Linked DNA regions of Homo sapiens: regions 1, 2, 3, 4, 6 and 7 are each linked to region 5. Evidence: promoter capture Hi-C in human tissues and cell types (Jung and others, 2019). All regions are on one chromosome and are shown on one strand. Each heading gives the region's core, a stretch centred on a gene start or on the middle of the fragment in contact. The rest is flanking DNA. Distances are from core to core; before and after follow the strand shown.

The links. Contacts are between HindIII fragments. The study calls those that stand out against the background at their distance.
Region 1: a fragment that was not itself captured here is called in contact with the fragment with the promoter of PAIP2 in region 5 in 2 of the 25 tissues and cell types used here (adrenal gland and hippocampus).
Region 2: a fragment that was not itself captured here is called in contact with the fragment with the promoter of PAIP2 in region 5 in 3 of the 25 tissues and cell types used here (IMR-90 fibroblasts, dorsolateral prefrontal cortex and lymphoblastoid cells).
Region 3: a contact is called between a fragment that was not itself captured here and the fragment with the promoter of PAIP2 in region 5, in 1 of the 25 tissues and cell types used here (hippocampus).
Region 4: a contact is called between a fragment that was not itself captured here and the fragment with the promoter of PAIP2 in region 5, in 1 of the 25 tissues and cell types used here (dorsolateral prefrontal cortex).
Region 6: a contact is called between a fragment that was not itself captured here and the fragment with the promoter of PAIP2 in region 5, in 1 of the 25 tissues and cell types used here (dorsolateral prefrontal cortex).
Region 7: a contact is called between a fragment that was not itself captured here and the fragment with the promoter of PAIP2 in region 5, in 3 of the 25 tissues and cell types used here (aorta, heart left ventricle and hippocampus).

Annotation. Positions count from the first base shown.
Region 1 is chr5:138,902,795-138,905,494 of GRCh38, reverse strand. It overlaps CTNNA1 (catenin alpha 1), which reads right to left. Exons shown (of 18, transcript NM_001903.5): 10 at 1,054-1,146. Among named protein-coding and RNA genes, the nearest start is that of LRRTM2, 29 kb to the right of the region's middle. The HindIII fragment of the contact is 6,719 bases long and covers 1-2,700 here.
Region 2 is chr5:138,847,871-138,850,570 of GRCh38, reverse strand. The region is part of intron 7 of CTNNA1 (catenin alpha 1); the gene reads right to left. Among named protein-coding and RNA genes, the nearest start is that of LRRTM2, 26 kb to the left of the region's middle. The HindIII fragment of the contact is 5,446 bases long and covers 1-2,700 here.
Region 3 is chr5:138,867,560-138,870,259 of GRCh38, reverse strand. The region is part of intron 7 of CTNNA1 (catenin alpha 1); the gene reads right to left. It overlaps LRRTM2 (leucine rich repeat transmembrane neuronal 2), which reads left to right. Exons shown (of 2, transcript NM_015564.3): 2 at 1-1,339. Among named protein-coding and RNA genes, the nearest start is that of LRRTM2, 6.4 kb to the left of the region's middle. The HindIII fragment of the contact is 6,536 bases long and covers 1-2,700 here.
Region 4 is chr5:138,943,140-138,945,839 of GRCh38, reverse strand. No RefSeq gene overlaps it. Among named protein-coding and RNA genes, the nearest start is that of LRRTM2, 69 kb to the right of the region's middle. RefSeq lists a silencer at 1,431-1,643. The HindIII fragment of the contact is 6,636 bases long and covers 1-2,700 here.
Region 5 is chr5:139,340,559-139,343,258 of GRCh38, reverse strand. It overlaps PAIP2 (poly(A) binding protein interacting protein 2), which reads right to left and starts at 1,405. Exons shown (of 4, transcript NM_016480.5): 1 at 1,279-1,405. The HindIII fragment of the contact is 8,924 bases long and covers 1-2,700 here.
Region 6 is chr5:138,922,406-138,925,105 of GRCh38, reverse strand. CTNNA1 (catenin alpha 1) reads right to left here. Exons shown (of 18, transcript NM_001903.5): 12 at 396-596. Among named protein-coding and RNA genes, the nearest start is that of LRRTM2, 48 kb to the right of the region's middle. The HindIII fragment of the contact is 9,713 bases long and covers 1-2,700 here.
Region 7 is chr5:138,884,934-138,887,633 of GRCh38, reverse strand. It overlaps CTNNA1 (catenin alpha 1), which reads right to left. Exons shown (of 18, transcript NM_001903.5): 8 at 1,342-1,422; 9 at 1-144. Among named protein-coding and RNA genes, the nearest start is that of LRRTM2, 11 kb to the right of the region's middle. The HindIII fragment of the contact is 4,201 bases long and covers 1-2,700 here.

The DNA.
Region 1 (2,700 bases), core at 141-2,640, 440 kb after region 5:
TTGGTTTCCTCCAACACAGAGACCCAAATACTGACCATTAAAATGAATATAGGTGAATAGTGTGAGGTAACTCTCATGGTTCCAGGATGGCCAGATGTCACAAATGGCCCTCAAGGAGGGTGTAGACTCTCCCTCAAGGAGACTGTGGTCACTGCCACCCTGTATTTTCCAGCAATGGAAGGCACCATACCTTCCTCAACCCACCAAGACAAGGTCTCACTCTGTCACCAAGGCTGGAGTGCAGTGGTGTGATCTCGGCTCACTGCAACCTTTGCCTCCCAGGCTCAAGCCAGCCTCCCACCATAGCCTCCTGAGTGGCTGGGACTACAGGTGCACGCCATCATGTTGGGCTAATTTTTGTATTTATGTATGTATGTATGTATTTTTTTTTTTTTTTTTTTGAGACGGAGTCTTGCTCTGTCGCCCAGGCTGGAGTGTAGTGGTGCGATCTCAGCTCACTGCAAGCTCCGCCTCCCAGGTTCACGCCATTCTGCTGCCTCAGCCTCCCGAGTAGCTGGCACTACAGGCACCTGCCACCACACCCACCTAATTTTTTTTTTTTTTAGTAGAGACGGGGTTTCACCGTTTTAGCCAGGATGGTCTCGATCTCCTGACCTCGTGATCCGCCCGCCTCGGCCTCCCAAAGTGCTGGGATTACAGACGTGAGCCACTGTGCCCGGCCAAAATATGTATTTTTTTTTTAAGAGATGGTGTTTTGCTATGTTGCCCAGGCTGGTCTCAGATTCCTGGGCTCAACTGACCCATCCACTTTGGGATCCCAAAGTGCTGCGATTACAGGCGTGAGCCACCGTGCCCAGCCCACTGTGCATTTTCAATGAAGGGCCAGGAGTAACATGTAATCTCCCGTGCAAATGTCACTTAATGTTAAACAAAAAATATTCCAAACTATGTGGGTTCTGTGTCAGTGATCTGTCCCCAAGACTTCCATCTAAAATCCTAAAAACAAAACAAAACTTAACAAAATAAACCTCATCTCCACTTGAATCAAAATTTAATTTGGTTATGCTGTCACCAGTGTCAGTTGTACTTTACCTGAGGACAGAGGGCTTCTAACTGGCTTGCAGACATTCGAACAAGCTTTACACCTTCTTCATTATTTGAGATGGAACAGGCCAAGTTGGCAACCTATAAACATAAAAAATAATCTTTAAAGATTTTTCTCTTTTGACTGCTAAGGAAAAAACACACACCTGGCCCTACCTCTGACCATTCTGGAACAGATGACAAGGGCACCAAGGGTGCCTCCCTTCTCACAGCCTGATTATTTACTTAGATGAGGACACATTTTTAACTCTACACAAAGCAAACTATACAGACTCATAACATACATCACATTGCAGGTTGGTGGCAAAACCTTGAAAGATCCCAGGGCCTGTAACTCACATGCTTTGCATGGCCTCTAACCCGCCTGAACAGTAACTTCAGAAAAAGGTTCTTCTAGTATGGGCAATAAGGTGAGAAAAGCTGAAGAATCAAGGGCATCAGGAAAGAACTGTTGTTATCCTCAAAAATGTGTTTTGCAGTGTTCTTGAAGGAAGGAAATAAAAAACTCTAAGGTGCTATGCTCATTTGACAGGGAATAGATGCTTAATTTAAGGCAAGATGAATTTTATTTGAACACCAGACAATTTTTCAAACAAAAAAAAATAACATGAAGACAACATCAAGATGGACCAAAGGCAATCATGATCAAAAGTGGAAAAGGAAACTGGTTATGTTTCATAGTTAAAAGCAAAACTGCCCTTCAACTGGGTTCTCAAAAACACTGACAGCTTGAATCTCTCCTGGCTGATGCGGCTTAATTTGAACCGAAATCTTTACCTTCCCGTCCAGCCATCTCAATGATACAGCTCACGTGGCCAGGAACAATCTTTCCAGGTTGTGTCATACTTCCTTTGCTGAAGCTCTGGAATGTTACTGCGTAGTGACTGCTAAGGCTGTGATCACTTATCCATATTTCTAAATGAACAGGCTTGCCAATTCCATTAGCAATATCTGGGCCCAACTGAATACACGGTACTGAGACACATCTTTACCCCAGTTGCAAACTGAGTTATGAATGATAAAGGCGTAGGCAGTTGAATATCAGAGGCACTTTCTGGGAATTTAAATGCTAGAGTAAACAAGGGCAATGGCAATAACCTTTGATTTTCACTCCTCCGCCCAACTTAAGCACATAAACACATCAGAAAAATTATACACTATTACGGCAGTTGTTTGTAGTGCTACAGTTAAGGATTATCAGCTTTCTATAAGACTGCTAACTATCAGAATCCTGCAATGCCCAAACACAAGGAGAAACAAAAGAAGTTAACGTGCAATTTAAACATAAAAATGTAAAGGAACTGGAAAGTCAGATCTCTGATGTTTATGAGTCCTTCAAAGTCACATAAAGAAGCAACACTTATACTCCCTGACACTTACAGTTCCACCTTCTCTGTCATCTGGACCCAAGCAGAGAGACATTTCTTTTCAGGATGACAAATCTACAGAGATGACTGGGGATTTCTATTTGTTTGCTTAAAAAATCACTGCAAAATATGACCTAAGATAAATTTTGTAAAATGTAAGACTTAAAAAAAAAGGAAACAAATATTCATTGAAGGAGAAAGCTTGAATTAGATGTGTTCATGAAGAGTAATCTACAACTTCTATTGCTTCACTGCCTTAAGACGACAT
Region 2 (2,700 bases), core at 162-2,661, 490 kb after region 5:
AGATAAACATTTGAAAGAAGATGGTAAATGCCTAATGGCTACATAGATAATACAGTAAGATGTACTATTATTAGTATTAATTATTTGTTAAATAGAAGTATCCTCAACATTATACAGAACAGTCAATAACAGAGCACCTAGACTAAGGCCACTCGATCTGACTTGGTTGAAAAACAATTCAAACATGAAAGAAGCCAAAGTGATTATATTCTAGACATGTGAGCTTCATAGAGTTCATTGCAATTAAGGGACTATAAGCTGATGCCATAGTACAGTGAATAGAAATAGAGGCATCCAGGATTAAATATCTAAGAAAGAAGAAGGAAGGCAAAGATAGAAGACAGGGAGAGCACAAATTGCGGATGGTTTGGCCAAAAGAGGGCATGTGGAATCAGACTGGGTAGCCATAAGAGCAAAGTAAATAAACATTAGGAAAACATTGTTTTAGAGGAAAAAAACAAAATAAGTGTAGGTCAGCAAATTATCATAGTAAAACCTATTTCACAATCAAGTATAATAACTTTCCATATAAGTCAAAAGACACAAAAATCTTAAGAGAGAGAGTGTGTGTGTGTGTGTGTTTTATTGTATCTACAAAAAATATTTCTGGAAGATACACAAGAAACTGTAAGAAGAGAAACTGAATGGCTAGGTAACAGGGATGAGAGGCAATGCTCATTAGATACTCTTTTAGACCCCTTTAAGCCATGTAAATGCACTGCCTATTTTAAGAATTAAAAAAAAAAACTTTTTATCAGGTATAAGGAAATGCAACTGTAAGGATCTCAGTTCAACAACAGACCTTTTTCAAAACAAGAACCCTATGAAAGCCAGCAAATGAATTGCTCTCCTATTACTCTTTAGTTTTCTGAAGCAAATAACCATTAATCCAATGAGTAAGTTCATAGATAACATCTGATGGCAACTGTTCACATCTCCTGAAGTGGAGTGATGATACCAGCCAGCGCACGTGCCTCACTTCAAAGTCAGCCCTGCTTAACTATAAAGATTTTCCTAATAAGATTTTTCTCTTCAGAGGTTTAAGAGCTCTAAAGACAGAGAATGTTATAACATGAAAGGGAAAGAGAACTTCTAGACCTCACACTGCCTGTCCTACCGTCTTTGTTTTTGTTTTTGTTTTTTAAATACATAGGCTATGCCTAGGTTTACTGTTTTTGGTTAATTATTCAACCAGTTCTAGGGTGTGTAAATTCTCTTAAACAATGAGATAGTGGGTTTGTTAAAACAAAAACAACAAAACCCTATTCATAATAGCTTTTTCCTCTAGTGCTAATTTTAAAAAAAAATAGAGAGGAAATACAACTTATAAAAAATGAACATGAAACTACATGAATAGTTACAGTATTCAAATAAACAGTCTACTTCAAATGCAATCACCAAATAAAGCCAAAACCAGTAGGAAAGAATAATCAAGAAATTTTATACAGAGATGCCTATACAAAACTCAATTCAGAGAATGAACACTGACGATCAGAGCCATGCTTCCCCATGCCAGATAACTCAGAATTAACAATAAAGAAGTATGCCAGGCAGGGCAAGGTGGCTCACGCCTGTAATCCCAGCAATTTGGGAGGCCGAGGCAGGCATATCATGAGGTCAGGAGTTCGAGACCAGTCTGACCAACATGGTGAAACCTTGTCTCTACTAAAAATACAAAAATTAGCTGGGTATGATGGTGCATACCTGTAATCCCAGCTACTCAGGAGGCTGAGGCAGGAAATCACTTGAACCCAGGAAGTGGAGGTTGCAGTGAACCAAGCTCACGCCACTGCACTCCAGCCTGGGCGACAGAGAGAGACTCTATCTCAAAAAAAAGTATGCCAGGCCCAATCAAAATGCACATTTTAATAGTAAAGAGAGCATATTATGAATCTAGGAATAAAGCTACCAACTTCAGGCAAGACAGTTAAGACAAATGGAGAGCAATAAAATAAGCTATGCAGCACAGTCAACAGGGACACAGTCTTTAGACATTATTATCAGAATACACATGTAAAAGGGAAAATTCTCCAAATGTATTTGACCATGACTGTAAAAGAAGAGAGAAGAAAAGGGGGAGCAGAGAGAGAACTAAGCTCTTGGAGGAGAATGATAAATGCAATGGCTCTATGAAACTACTGGAAATCAGAAGAGCTAAAAAAACAAACAAACAAAAAAAAGAGGACTTAAAGTGTGAACAATTCAAATATAAATTATTAGTTATAGCAATGTTAATAGTAACACTAGTATTAACAGCAGTGGTTGTGCCTTACATGACTCTTTTCTATACACTTGCAACCATGATGGGTGCATAGGCACCATTATCATCCCCAGTTCCCAGTTGAGGAAACATAGACTTGGGAAAGCTTAGGTAACTTTTCATGCTCAGTGCAGCTGTCAAGACTAGAACAGTCTCTCCATAGAAAATCCCTTCAATAACAAATTTATCTTTATGCCAACAGCATATATGCATTAGTAAATGTAGTTCAAACATCTCTGGAAGGAAAGCAAAGCTTCAAATTAGGTAGAATTTATTACCCAAGAAGCAAGACCCCTGAATCTCAGCTAGGTAAAGAAGAACTTAAAGAAACAGAGGTGCCACTTGATTTATCTCTAGAAACACAGGTAATTATAAGTGCTCCCAACAAGTTCAAAACTAACAAAAGATATACTGGCCTATACAATCTCTGCTACTTTCAG
Region 3 (2,700 bases), core at 50-2,549, 470 kb after region 5:
AGATTAGACTGTTAGTCATCTGTGCTTTCTTTACCAACTGGCTAGAACGGAACAGCATCACAGCAACGCTGCGGATCTTGGTTACACAGTGTCAGAGCTTTTGTTTTTTGATGGGGTTTTATCCTCTTCACCACCACTACCCACTCCATTTTTTTTCTATTTTTAAGATTAGAGGAAAATGACCATTAAGAACCAGAAAAATAATTAATCTCTCTGGAAAAAGGAAAGCTAAAGAAGACTATGATACCATACCCATCTAGAAACCAAGAACTAGTTTGAAATCGTTTATATTCATTTCTGTAGCATGACAGGGATTTCAATCACCTTTCTGAAAAGAGTGGGCTGATAAACTTGTAAATCCACACACAACTCTGAGAATACCCACTGCCAGCATCAAAAAGCAAAGATACTAATTTTTTAAGCCAAAAATCTGTACTAACACATGTAATTTCTTAATGTGCCTAAGTTAATTTCTGTATCAATTCAATAAATGGAATTGACTGAACTTCCCAACGCCACTAATTATTAAAATCCATCTGCTTATTCTAATGCTAGTCACCAAGAGCTAGACTCCATCTTTCCAATAAAAATGAGCCCTATGTAGCACTAGGTTTGAATTCTAAAATTCAAAACAGGCATTTCATTTTCTTAAGGCACACTTCCTACACACAGCTATCAGGGGAAAAAGCTATAAATGTCCTGTTCTTTTTCTGAAGTGTGGATATCAATATAAAATTTGTTAAAGAATATTTTTAACAGCTGACTTACATGATCGTTTTCCTAATACAGGAATACAGCGACAGACCTATCTGAAAAGTCTGTTTGGGGGCATACTTTTCATATCTTATTGACTAAAGCCCTTGAGCCAGGAAAAAAAAAAAAAAAGAGAGAGAGACAGTAAGGCCATCTATAGATAATTAAATATTTCTCTATCTAACCTGGGGCAAACTCATAGTACTTGAATAAGGCCAAAAACAAATAGAAAATTACTGTTTAAGCTTTCATTCTGCTATTGCAAACATTTGGAAACCTCTGCAACTCTTTCAACTAACATTTTTGTCCTTAGCGGTTTTTTTTTTTTTTTTTAAGTCTGATATATGGAATGTTTGGTGAACCTTCCTATCAACACTGAGACTGGAAACTCAAAGTACAGTCCAAATACATTGTGTTCAATCACCTTCAAGAGCCATTTTTCTTTTTGGGTGGGAGGTGGGCAGATGGGTTGAGGGTGGGAAGAAAATACTATTATGCAGGGTGTTTTGGGAGGGGGGAGGGTAACATAAAGAGCAGTGTACAGGCAAGTTTTGTTATTAAAATTGTGTATACTGTAAAAAGTGAATGCCTTCTTTTTACTTTTCCTTGATAACCTATCAATTTTGACATGTGAAACTTGAAAAGCCATTTGTGACAGACATAGAAATCTTAAATGAACAGTTGTTTTATTCCATGTTCCTCTACAATGTCAAATGTGTCCACTGAAAAAAGGGGCAGCTAATCATTACCTGTCTTCAGAGAGAGGTAAAACTAGGATAAGAAGAAAGTAAAGGTAAAGTGGTGAGAAGGGAGAGTGCCTAAAAAGCTGTCATGCAGTAAGAAGCTGCTCTGTCAAGAGCCTGAGCAAGTGGACAAACAACTGTCCCAGGCTCACAGGGCATGGAGTTGGCTGCCCCTCTCTGAATCCTCCATTACAGTGAACTAACACCACAGAGAGCTTCGGAAAGGTACCAATTGCCTGTATCTAGCCAACAGCGACTTGGCCTCTACCTTGGGGGTTGGTTGATGTCCATCCCAGCAGCACCTTCCATGCCACTCCTAGGAGGGAGGTCCCACAGGTGCTTACACACTAGGACCATGAAGATCCCTACATGACCTCCTCCACCCTGGATGACGACTCAGTGAGTACAGATGGGAAAAGGAAGGGAAGATTTTAAACTACAATTGACCCTTGAACAACACTGGGGTTAGGGGTGCCAACCCCCTGCTCCACACAGTCGAAAATCTGCATAACTTTTGACTTCCCAAAAATTTTTATTAATAGCTACTGCTGACTAGAAGCATTACTGATAACATAAACGGTCAGTCCATATTAGATAACACATATTTAATACCGTCAGTCAAAATAATACATATTTTATATGTTATATGTATGATATATGGTATTCTTACAAAAATAAGCTGGAGAAAAGAAAATGTTATTAAGAAAATCATGGTGGGGCATGGTGGCTCACGCCAGTAATCCCAGTACTTTGGGAGGCTGAGGTGGGTGGATCACCTGCGGTCAAGAGTTTGAGACCAGTCTGGCCAATAAGGCGAAACCCTGTCTCTACTAAAAACACAAAAATTAGCCAGGCAACCTGGTATGCGCCTGTAATCCCAGCTACTCGGGAGGCTGAGGCAGGAGGATTGCTTGAACCCGGAGGTGGAGGTTGCAGTGAGCTGAGATCATGCCACTGCACTCCAGTCTGGGTGACAGAGTGAGACTCCATCTTAAAAAAAAAGAAAAAAAAAAAAAGAAAGAAAGAAAATCATAAGAGAAAATACATTTATCATTAAGTGGAACTGGATCACCATAAAGGCCTTCATCCTTCTTGTTGTCTTCACATTGAGTAGGCCGAGAAGGAAGAGAAAGAAAAGGAGTCAGTCTTACTGTCTCAGGGTTATCACAGGTGGGAGGAAATCCACATATAAGTATCACAGGTG
Region 4 (2,700 bases), core at 168-2,667, 400 kb after region 5:
AGTCCAGGCTGATGCTGGAGTAACAGCTTCCCCAGGGCGGGAGGCCTCAGGGCTAGGGCAGAGTGGGGAACAGACTCGCAGTCTGCCAGCCATTGGGTACCTGCTGCCTTTACAGCCTCGCAGGAGTCTTCGAAGTAGATTTTACAGATGAGGAAATCATGGCTCAGAGAGGCCAAGTGATCTGCCTGTGGGGGCAGCAGTGGGCCTGCGGTGCTGATGGTGCTGTGGGAGGCTTGAATGGGAGGCCAAGAAGGGGACGATGTTGAACTGACAGGCAGCGGAGGGAGGACCACGAGAAATGGCCGGGCATGTGTGGCCACAACAGGGCAGGCAGGTTTCAGACAGGAGGTGCCAGCGCCTGGATGAGGCCAAGGTCAAGGGGTGCTTTAGAGGTAGTGTTGGAAGATCTAGCGTAGACTTGAGAAAGGGGCAAGGTGAGGTTTGATGGGGAGAGGGGCTGCCTCAGCAGAGGCTTGGAAGACAGGAGGACTTGGGGCTGGGCTGGGGATGAATCTATTCTAGGCTTTCAGCATTCAGAGGTGAGCACCAAGGCTGGACAGTGGGAACAGTGGACAGGCGAGAGTGTGGGGCCTTGTGGGGAGGCCAGGCCGGGCGCTCGGCTGTGTCAGGACCAGGCTGGCCCTGGAGGCCTCTGTGACCACCAGGGTCTGGCCCGGGGTGTGGAAAGCGTCCCTATGGGAGGAGTGCCACTAGTAGGGGCCTAACTGCAGTCCCCAGTGTCCCCTCTGCCCCCAGGTGTGCTGCCCTCAGCAGCGATTCTGTAAAGCAGAGGGAGGCTTTGGGCCAGGTGCTCTTGAGAGGATTTCTGGGAGCGAGGATGGAGGAACGGGCACCTGGGGGCTGTAGGGAGGGGGCTGGACCAGCGCCAGGCTGCTGAGCCCGAGGCCTGGGAGGTGGGACTGCGTGCACTCTGCCCTCACACACTCAGAGCATCGGAATGGGAGTTGGGCTGCAGTCTCTCTCCTCATTGGCCGCATCCAGGTTCGTTCTGGACTGTTAAGCAGACCCTCCAGGGAGAGGGTGGCGAGGCGCCCCAGGGTCTGGGCTTGGGCTGCTTGGGGGTGGGTTCTGGCTCCGCCTCCTGATTCATCGCGGCTTGTTGTCTGCAGGTCAGGAAGGAACCCCTTCTCTGCCTTCCCTTTGGCTGCCATCCTGGGAACTGTGGTCAAGGAGTGTGACCGGGGCTCGAAGTGAGGCAGGGAGTGGTGACGGGGGAGGTGGGACTTCCTCCTGTGGGGCTGGAGCCTGCTTTCCTGTCCTCACTGTCTTGGGATGGGCTGAGAGGTGTGCTGGGCTGACACCCACAGGCCCTCAGTGATTATTGGGTCCCTGCTCCTGGGCTGGGCTGACCCGGGCCCTAGTGTGGGAGGATGGCAGGGAGGGTGGTGGGCCTAGGTCCTCACCCCATCCCTCAGCAGCTGTGGTTTTATGAGTTCACTTGTTCATTCATTATTTCATTCACACTGTGGCTGTTGAGCAGTCGTGTGTGTCAGGCAGTTGGAGCTGAGAAGTCTGCTGAGCTGGGTGAAGCCAAGGAAAGGCCTCCCAGAGCTGGTGATGGCCAGGCTAAGCCCTGCAGGCTGCAGGAGTAGCAGTCAGGGATGGGCAGTTGGAAGGGCCAGTCTGGGGCAGGCAGGGCAAGGGCTCTGGCCCTGGGAAGATACAGGAAGGCCAGAGAGTGGCCATTTGCAGAATCCACAATTTCGGGTCCTCCGGCAGCTTGTCAGCCCTGCCAAGGGCTGTGCCCTCATCCTAGCAGGTGTTCTCTGGGCTGCTGCTTATTCATTCATTTGTTCAACAAATCTGGTTGGGTACTACGAGCCAGGCACTGTTCTAGGGCAGGAAGTGGTAGGACAGGAGGGGAGAGGGCTGGACCATGATAAATACACATGCTTCAGGGGAGGGCCAGGCAAGGAAGACAGAGCCCAGTGGGAAGGGAAGAGGGGTAGGCACTGCTGTTTCCCCTCAGTGGTGGGGAAGGCCTCTGAGGAGGGGCCAGGCACAGGAGCGCAGCAGTGAGCCATGGGGGTGCTTTGTAGACAAGGGGATAGCAGAGGCAAAGGTCCTGCAGGAACAGGCCAAAGCACTTCAGGAAAAGCCATGAGAACCAGGCCTGGAGCAGGCAGAGACCGAGGGAGGAGTTGCAAGGGAGGGCCGCCTGGGGAGGCTGTGGAAGGGACCTGGGATTTTCTTTGAGGTGGGGCTGTTGAGAGTTGGGTGCAGAGGAGAGACCTGATGTAACCCACCTTTTTCTTTTTGAGACAGGGTCTTGTTCTGTCACTCAGGCTAGAATGCAGTGGTGTGACCATGGCTCACTGCAGCCTTGACCTGCTAGGCTCAAGTGGTCCTCCCACCTCAGCCTCCAAAGTAGCTGGGACCACAGGTGCAAGCTGTCACGCCCAGCTAATTTTTTTCATTTTTTTGTAGAGGTCTCCCTATGTTTTCCAGGCTTGTCTTGAGCTCCTGGGCTCAAGCGATCCTGCTGCCTCAACCTCCCAAAGTGCTGGGATTACAGGTGTGAGCCCCTGTGCCCGGCCTCACCTTTTCTTACTGTTGTGGTGAGAATAGATGACACAGGGGCCAGGAGGGGCAGGGAGCCCAGGGCAGCATCCAGGGGGCAGCTGGACAAGGATGTGGGGCAGGGTGAAGACATAGGACTGTGAGAAGTGTGCAGACTCC
Region 5 (2,700 bases), core at 156-2,655:
AAAGTTTTATTCAAGTTCACAACTGACAAGTAGTATAAACAGACTAATTTTCCCCAAATATCCTGTCTTTCACTAACTGGAAACAGAATCACAAAAGCAAATAGTGGAGTCTCATTAAAAATTATTGTAGAGAACTTTTACTTATTGCAAACACAACCTACGCCAGAAGAAATTTCAAAAGCGACTTAATGAAAATATAAACCAACACCTGATCTAACTGTGCTAATGAAATCTGTGAAAAAACAATGCCACCACGTTTCAACATTAGCCAGCACACCCAACATGAACATCTACTTTCCGTTGAAATAAACGTCAAAGGCTGTCAGCTGCTACACCTTCCAAGGCAAATTGGAAGCCAAATTCTTTCTAGAGTTTGGGGTTTTTATGAGTTGATACGGGTGCCAAATCAGGGAAAAAAGAAACAAAAGGAAGCAGGTAAGACCCCTTTTAGGAGTCCCTAAAAAATATCACTGCTGGCTGCTGCAACAAATGTTTTGAAGACCTAAGTTCACCACAAGCCTTATTTATTTCTGGTGGCGATGGTGGGGAAGGAGGAGAGTAAGCACAGAAAATTATTAAAAGGTAAGAGGACCTTAAAGTTCATCTAACTCAACGCCCTCCTAGGGTAAGGGTTCCCAGTACCCCAAAGGTTCTTTTTTCCAGGGCATGAGCTGCAATACAACCAAAAATAAGGGGTAGCGATGGCGAAGAAACGGGAGAAAGACGATCTTCTGATCAGGCCCGTCGACGGTTGCAGCGTTCCCCCAAGACGCCAAGAGCCCGCCAGTCCCTCCGCCCCTCTCTCCCCAAACCCCAGCCTCGGCTGAGGCGCGCACGCGCAGCAAGTAGGGGCTGCGCGTGGCGACGCGCAGGCGTAAAGTGGGTAGAAACAATAAGCTTTGTTGCCGAGGCGGTGGGAGGGGGGCAGGGGAAAGGGTACCCGGCGGAGGGATAAAGGACCGGGAGAATGAGGAACAGGAGAAAGTGCTATCCCGGCAACCCTCGCGCCACTGAGGACCCGGATAGAGAGCTGCGAGATCCAAATCATTAATAATGACAATGAAAAAAAAGCGACGGCCATGTCTCGGAGAAGACAGAGACGAAGTCGGCCCAAGCTCATCCCTCAGACTTGGTGGAAAGAGGCAATGAACAACGGAGGCCGCAATGGACTCGGTGGCCAACCACCCAGGGAACCCTTTAGGCCCCTCTGCCGTCGCCGACTTGCTGTCCCTCGACCTCCGCACCCCTGTCGCCACTCTGCCCGAGAGGACCCCTCACCCAATGCACAGCAGCGGGGACGGCAGCCAACGAATCCTGTCGGCCTCCGCGGATCTCCACAGGCAGCGCCGCTCCCCCGCTCGACGTGCGCTTCGCCCGCCGCCTCCCTTCTCCAGTCCAAACAAACACCCCAGCCCGGAAGTGACTTCACTTCCGTCGCCGCCAACCCCGCCCTCTTGTTCTGTCAGCTCTGCCCTCCGAAGCCACTAGAGAGCGCGCGCGAGAACGCGCGACCCCGAAGTCTGTCTCCAAGGCTGCACACGTGTGCACGCGCAGCAGCCTTTCCAGCGCGCCCCTACGGCCGGCTGCCGGGTGTAGCAGGAACGCTGTCGCACGTTCTCTCTGGAAGGCAGGAATGGGGGCGTACCACTGTTCCCACACCCGCCCATCTTCCGAGAATGATGATATGCAATGAGTGAGGCAGCTGGGGACTGAAGAGCACCCTGACAAGATACACAGGCGTGGACTTTCACAGACATCACACACCCCCCCAAAAACGTAATATTTAGGTAATGACATAGCACACACATACCCATACACACCCCAAGAATGATACACAATGTCACACAAACAGCGACATGCACCGAGTCACGTCAAGATCCTGACACAGAAAAATAATAAACTAAGGGAAATCACAGAGGCGTACTAAATGATATGCAAACATCCGCACTCAGACATGTGCAGGCACAAAAACACACTTTTTGAAGCTGGATGCAAACGCAAAATACAAATACATGTGCAACTTCTTTGTGGCTAAAGGAGGAAATGCCCTGTCCACACAGGATAGAAAAGTGTGACCTCCGGGTTCAAGAATTTTGTAGTCCGTGATCCTGGGTGCACTGGCCCCATAGTTATTCTTACCCATGCTTCCTTCCTGTCATCGTTGACAAGCCCCAAGATATATTTCTAGTGACACTAAGCAATGTAAAGAAGAGAGTATGTTTTTGTTTTTTTGTTTTGTTTTGTTTTTTTGAGGCGGAGTCTGGCTCTCTTGCCCAGGCTGGAGTGCAGTGGCGCCATCTCGGCTCACTGCAACCTCCGCCTCCCGGGTTCAAGAGATTCTCCTGCCACAGCCTCCCAAGTAGCTGGGACTACAGGCGCACGCCAGCACACCCGGCCAATTTTTGTACTTTTAGTAGAGATAGGGGTTTCACCGTGTTGGCCAGGATGGTCTCGATCTCCTGACCTCGTGATCCACCCGCCTCCGCCTCTCAAAGTGCTAGGATTACAGGTGTGAGCCACCGCACCCGGCCGAGAGTATGTGTTTTACAAATCTGGATGTTCAAATGTGTAGATACTATCTTTGAAAAAGGGACACAAACTAATTTCTTCCCTTTGGAGAGGGCAAATGACCGACTAGGAAATGGGTGCAAATAACTATCCTTTTCTCCTGAAAAATTTGAATCTTTTAAAAACTATATG
Region 6 (2,700 bases), core at 1-2,500, 420 kb after region 5:
ATTAAATGCAGTATTTTACGACTCAAATCATCTTTTTCTCTGCAACAGAGATTGGATGGTTGAGAACTTGAAGTGAGACTAACTTGAAGCCTTGCTTAAGAATGGGACCTACCTTAATTTAGTCTTTACTCACTAATAGGAGATTTAACTCAGAAATTCATCTTAAATCGTGTGTTTAGAATTAGTCCCGTGATTACTCATGAGATACAGATGAAGAAAATATGCTTGTGAGGCCTGAATTTGGCTATGACCAGCTTCTCAGGAGCCCGATGTGCCATGAGACCAAATCTGAGTTCCCAACTCCTCCTTCCTCACCACAGGGCTGGGCTAATGGGGTGGCCTGCCTCACTGAGGCTGCGGTGTGTGCGAGCACTGGAAAGGGAGAGTTCCCGTACCTGTGTTGGAGAGCAGCTTAGTGGCTTCCAGAACCTTCTCTGTGTAGACTCCTGGCTCATAGTTGTCCATCTCTGAGGTGACTACGTGAATGACCCGGGCTGCCCGGCCTCGAATTGCACCAGCTGTGCGGTCCAGGCCATCCACATCCTTCTCTTGGAGAGCAATGACACATTTGTTCACATCTTCCAAAATGTGATTCTCTGGAGAACAAGCAAAAAGTTGAATGAGGAAGGAGGCTTTCTATGAAAAGGTGGCAACTGTAAGCTGGCATCTATCATTTATTGTTTGCTTGGTGCCAGCCACAGTGCTGAAAGTTTTACATATACTTCATTGGAGAGACCAGTGACTAGTGACAGAGACAGAAACTAAACCTGTTATCACCCCCAAGAATAACAATCTTCATTCCAGGTTTTTAAAAAAAAAAAAACAAAAAATAAAAAACACACACAAAAAAAACAGGAGACATGCCCATCTTTGAGACACAGCTGTTCTGTAATTTTCTGGCAGAAAATTATCATAGAAGCATCAATAACTTATCTTCCTCTAGCTTCACTGACTCTATGTCCCAAATAAAGGAAAGGCTAAATTAGAACAAAAGTCCACTGTCCCCTCTCCCTCTCCTTCCAGGAGATGCTGATGATATTCAGACAATCTACCAAGAAGCCAGTACAGCCCTGGGATAGGAGAAGGTGCTGGAAAGCAGGTTGAAGCCTCCTCTAGAGGACCCTGAGGTGTGAGATGAACTATTTAATAACCCTCTTCATGGTACACAGATGGGCTTATTGTGATATTTGAAGGGTCCCTAGAGGTGAAAACCCCTGACTCCTATGAAGCTGATGGGTGGCTCCTAACAGTCATACAGCTGAATTTGGGCAACACACCAAAACTATTTTTCCTCAAAGCAAAAAGCCTGACACTATAAATTTTTAGGAACCCCACCACAAAGGGTTTGCTCGAACTCATCTGTAGTAACAACGTGAAAGCAACCAAAATCTCCAAGAGAAGGGTGGATAAATGAATTATGGGAACTATGCAGCCATTAAAGTGGATGATACAGATCTAGAGGCTGAGGCGGGAGGATGGCTTGAACCCAGGAGGCAGAGGTTGCAGTGAGCCAAGATCGCGCCACTGCATTCCAGCCTGGGCAACAGAGTGAGACTCTGTCTCAAAAACAAAAGCCAAAACAAACAAAAAACACCTTTCCAGGGAAGGCCAGGAAACAGTAAGAATTCTTATTAGAGAAGGGAAAACTAGATTACTGCAATATAGTTAAGACCATATTTTGGTCTCTATTAATTACAAATTATGAGACTTGCCAGGGTTTATACCACTGAACTAATGAAAAGAGTAAACATATTAAACTTCTAACATAAACACATTTTAAGAGGGATATTTAAACCAATTACAAGAATAAATGGATTTGGAGCCCATCACAAGCATTTTTAAAATATATAAACTCTAATAATTCAAGCTAAACAAATGTACTGAGCAGGACTACCATACGAGGTCTTGGGTTAAAAACTGCTGCTTTACTGGATCTAACACAATACCGTTAAGATGAAACTTGCATTGCTAAGGAAAGGAAAGGAATACAATTGAAAGAAATCATGTTGATAGCAAAACTAAGAACCAGTGTTTTCTCATATCATTGATTTTAAGACTCATCCCTATTTCAGAATCAATGAAGTATGGCATTCCTTTCCGTTCAAAAGTGACCCAAACTTCCACCAAGGATTTTTTAACCTTTGTCTAGATACTTCTACGGTTTTTTTTTTTTTTAATCCATTTAGACTTTCTTGAATTCATCCTGGCCGCCTTCTAGATGAACCTAAACCAGGAAAGAGTGTGCCATTTTTTAGAGTAATATTCCCCACTTCAGGAAGCTGACCAAAGTAATATTCTCTACCCTCATGAAACACTTGTCTCTAGGAAAGCCCCAGCCTCGCTGAGGCTACCACACACCCAGGACAGAGCACCCAGCCTGCTCTCCACAACTGAACCTGATGGGGGGAGGTGCGAGTCCACTGTTCAACAGAGGGGGACAGGCTCTGCCCACACTTAACTGAAACCATACATCATTTTAGCTAAGGAAACAGCATAGGTCCACTATGAGTAGACACAACAATCTGTACCCATGAACAACTGTTCAATACATTATTTATAGGTGTGCTTCTAATAGAAAAAAATTCATACACATACATATAACAGTCCATACAAAATACAGACAACTATATGTAAATGAATATAAAAGGAATTATATTATGGACACTATTGTATCTTTTTCACTTGAAAACCTTTCTAGGT
Region 7 (2,700 bases), core at 1-2,500, 460 kb after region 5:
TTTGTTGGCATGTTCACGGAAAACTTGGGCATACTCCTTAACTTCTTTCTCATTTCCATTCTTTGCAGCTTCAATCAATACCAAAAGTGGAACATTGGTTTCCAGGAAAGAATCTGAAACGTGGTCCATGACAGCTTTGCGGAGCTAATGATTAAATTGTAAAAATTTGATTTTATTTCTACCAAAAAGGTATTAAATAGATTGCTTTTTATTCTCTTGTACACTTAAATCTAATGAAGCTTACGGTAGACTTGCTGCACTTACATGAGGACCCCTCATGTAAGCCATGCAGTTACATAATCTACAACACAGGAAACATGATCATGGAGACAATGGTTTACATTACTACAGTTACAGCATTTCAGCAACAGAATCTCAGTTCTTAAGACAATATCCTTTTTTCTTGGGAATTACAAAACTAGGGCTTACAACTTAAATAATACAAAAGCTGAACTGAAAGCAGCTCTGGGTTGAACTGGCACATAGCCTTGGAATATATATATAATTAGCCTAATTGGCTAAATAAAAAGAGAAGAGAGAAAAAAGAGTTATCTGGCTTATCTGAAAGGATTCACACACTATGAACCTTAAAACTTAAGGTTCTCTTTATAACCATTTCTGATACTGCTTCACCAAAAGGAAATTGAATAAAGATATATTTTATCTTTAATTTTGTTTTATATCAGACATAAGCAATAAAATATCTGTCCATTACCTCTTAAAAATTGTCTGTATTACAACTTCTTAAGTCTTAATACATTGCTTTATAAAATCAACTCTAACTTCTTTAAAGACTAAAACTCAATTTGACTCCAAATGTTAATGGGGTCATTTATCATTAAAAGGTTCGATTTCTCTACTCTGTATTTACTAACTCAGAAAATTCAGCACCTCAAATATCTCTATACCTACCATATTTGGAACTGGAAACATTTCACCATGGATCTAAGGGAACTGCAAGTGTGTAATGAGTATAGGGCAAGTCAGATAAACAACTGAAATTTCTGTCTCTATTGTACATAGTCAATACAACAAGATCCTTCAGGATTATTTTCACAGGTCTCCAAGTCATTTTAAATTTATTTTCCTACCTGTACATGCCTTTCACACTAGAGCTAACTTATTCAGTCCAACACAGTGAGACTGTATTATCCCATGTCTTCATGAAATTTGATTAGCCATTAAGAAGCATATTAGCAACAAAACAAAGATAGGCACTTTCTTGTGAAAATCCATCCTTTCTCTCAATAAAAAAATATAAGGCCAGTGCTTATTAGGATTTTAATCAAAACTACAAAATTGAGAACTTAGAAAAACAATCAGCACTTTCATCCAGATTACCTGTCTACGCAAGTCCCTGGTCTTCTTGGTCATTTTATCTATTGCAGAATTGAGTGCATCACTTCTTTCTTTACGTCCAGCCTGGATAAAAGGAAAAGAGATGAGCATTTTATTCATTTACAAAGAAACCTAATGATAGCCTATAGCCATTTGTGCTCATGTCAACACTGAAAAAGCAGTACAACTTCTTAAACTCAAAGTTGGAAAATACTGGGGAGCAGAGGGGTGTTATGTGGCTTTATTCATAAAAACCCAACCTTACAATTCTTGGGCTCCACATTATCTGATGACTGGAATTGAGGGAGTTTTGCCAAAATAAGAGAAGCCAAGAGACAAAGAGCTTTGCTTAAAGTTTGGCTTTTAAAAATTAAATTTATATTTTAACTCAAGGTTCAGCATACACCAATTTTATTAATGAAGCAGCTCTCCTTGAACTGCAGCAAGAACAGGGTACACCTGATTTTGATGAACTCTGAGATCTGAAGAATGTCAAGATGTGAAAAATGGGACCTGGCACTGAAACAATGTGAAACAACAAATTTAAAAACTAAGATGTACCTGATAGGTCAGAGCTAATAATGTTTATTATGCAGCTCAAATCATAATGCTTTGTAGGATTACTTTGGTCACTTTAAAAAAATCCTAGACTAAGCTTTAATGCAGTTATATTGCACAGAAAAGAACCCGCTAGTCACTCTTGAAGTGGTATGTAAAACAGCATGTCTTCAGAGGTCAAGGTGCTGAGTCGAGATTTGCCAGGGTAACATTCTAAGCAGAATCAAATGGAATAAAATAGCAGTTGAAAGAAAAGGAACAAAAGTCTTTTTTTAAATCCCAGGTGGAGATTGTTGTGTCCCTGGAAATGCCTACATCATGTAGGTTAAACTATAAAGTATATATAAAGTATATTAAAAGCTTGTTTTCGCAAAACAAATACGGTTCTTTCTGAAAAACATGTCAGCAAATAATAGGAGAGATACAAATGAACAAAGGAATTTAGCCCATTGTTCTCCCTTTGGATGCCCTCAAGACATTTTGGTATGGGTATGCTCTTAGTACACAAGCCAGTAGAGCAGATGAATGGTTAGGAATGGGGAGATCTGTTTACTAAGTGCCTTTAATGTACATTTGTTATTCACTTTATCTCTTATCCCTTACCTGTCAATTGTGGAAAATGCCACCTATCTCTCTATGGACTGTTAGAAATATTGAGGGATATAGGTTATTTAGCAAAGGGCAGAAAGGAGACAACAGGGAATAGTAAGAGTTGAAATATAAGTAAAATTGATATGATCACTATCAAATCTGGTTATGGTCTCATTCCTTAAGCCTTTCCCCCTAGCACTCTTGTACTGCCAA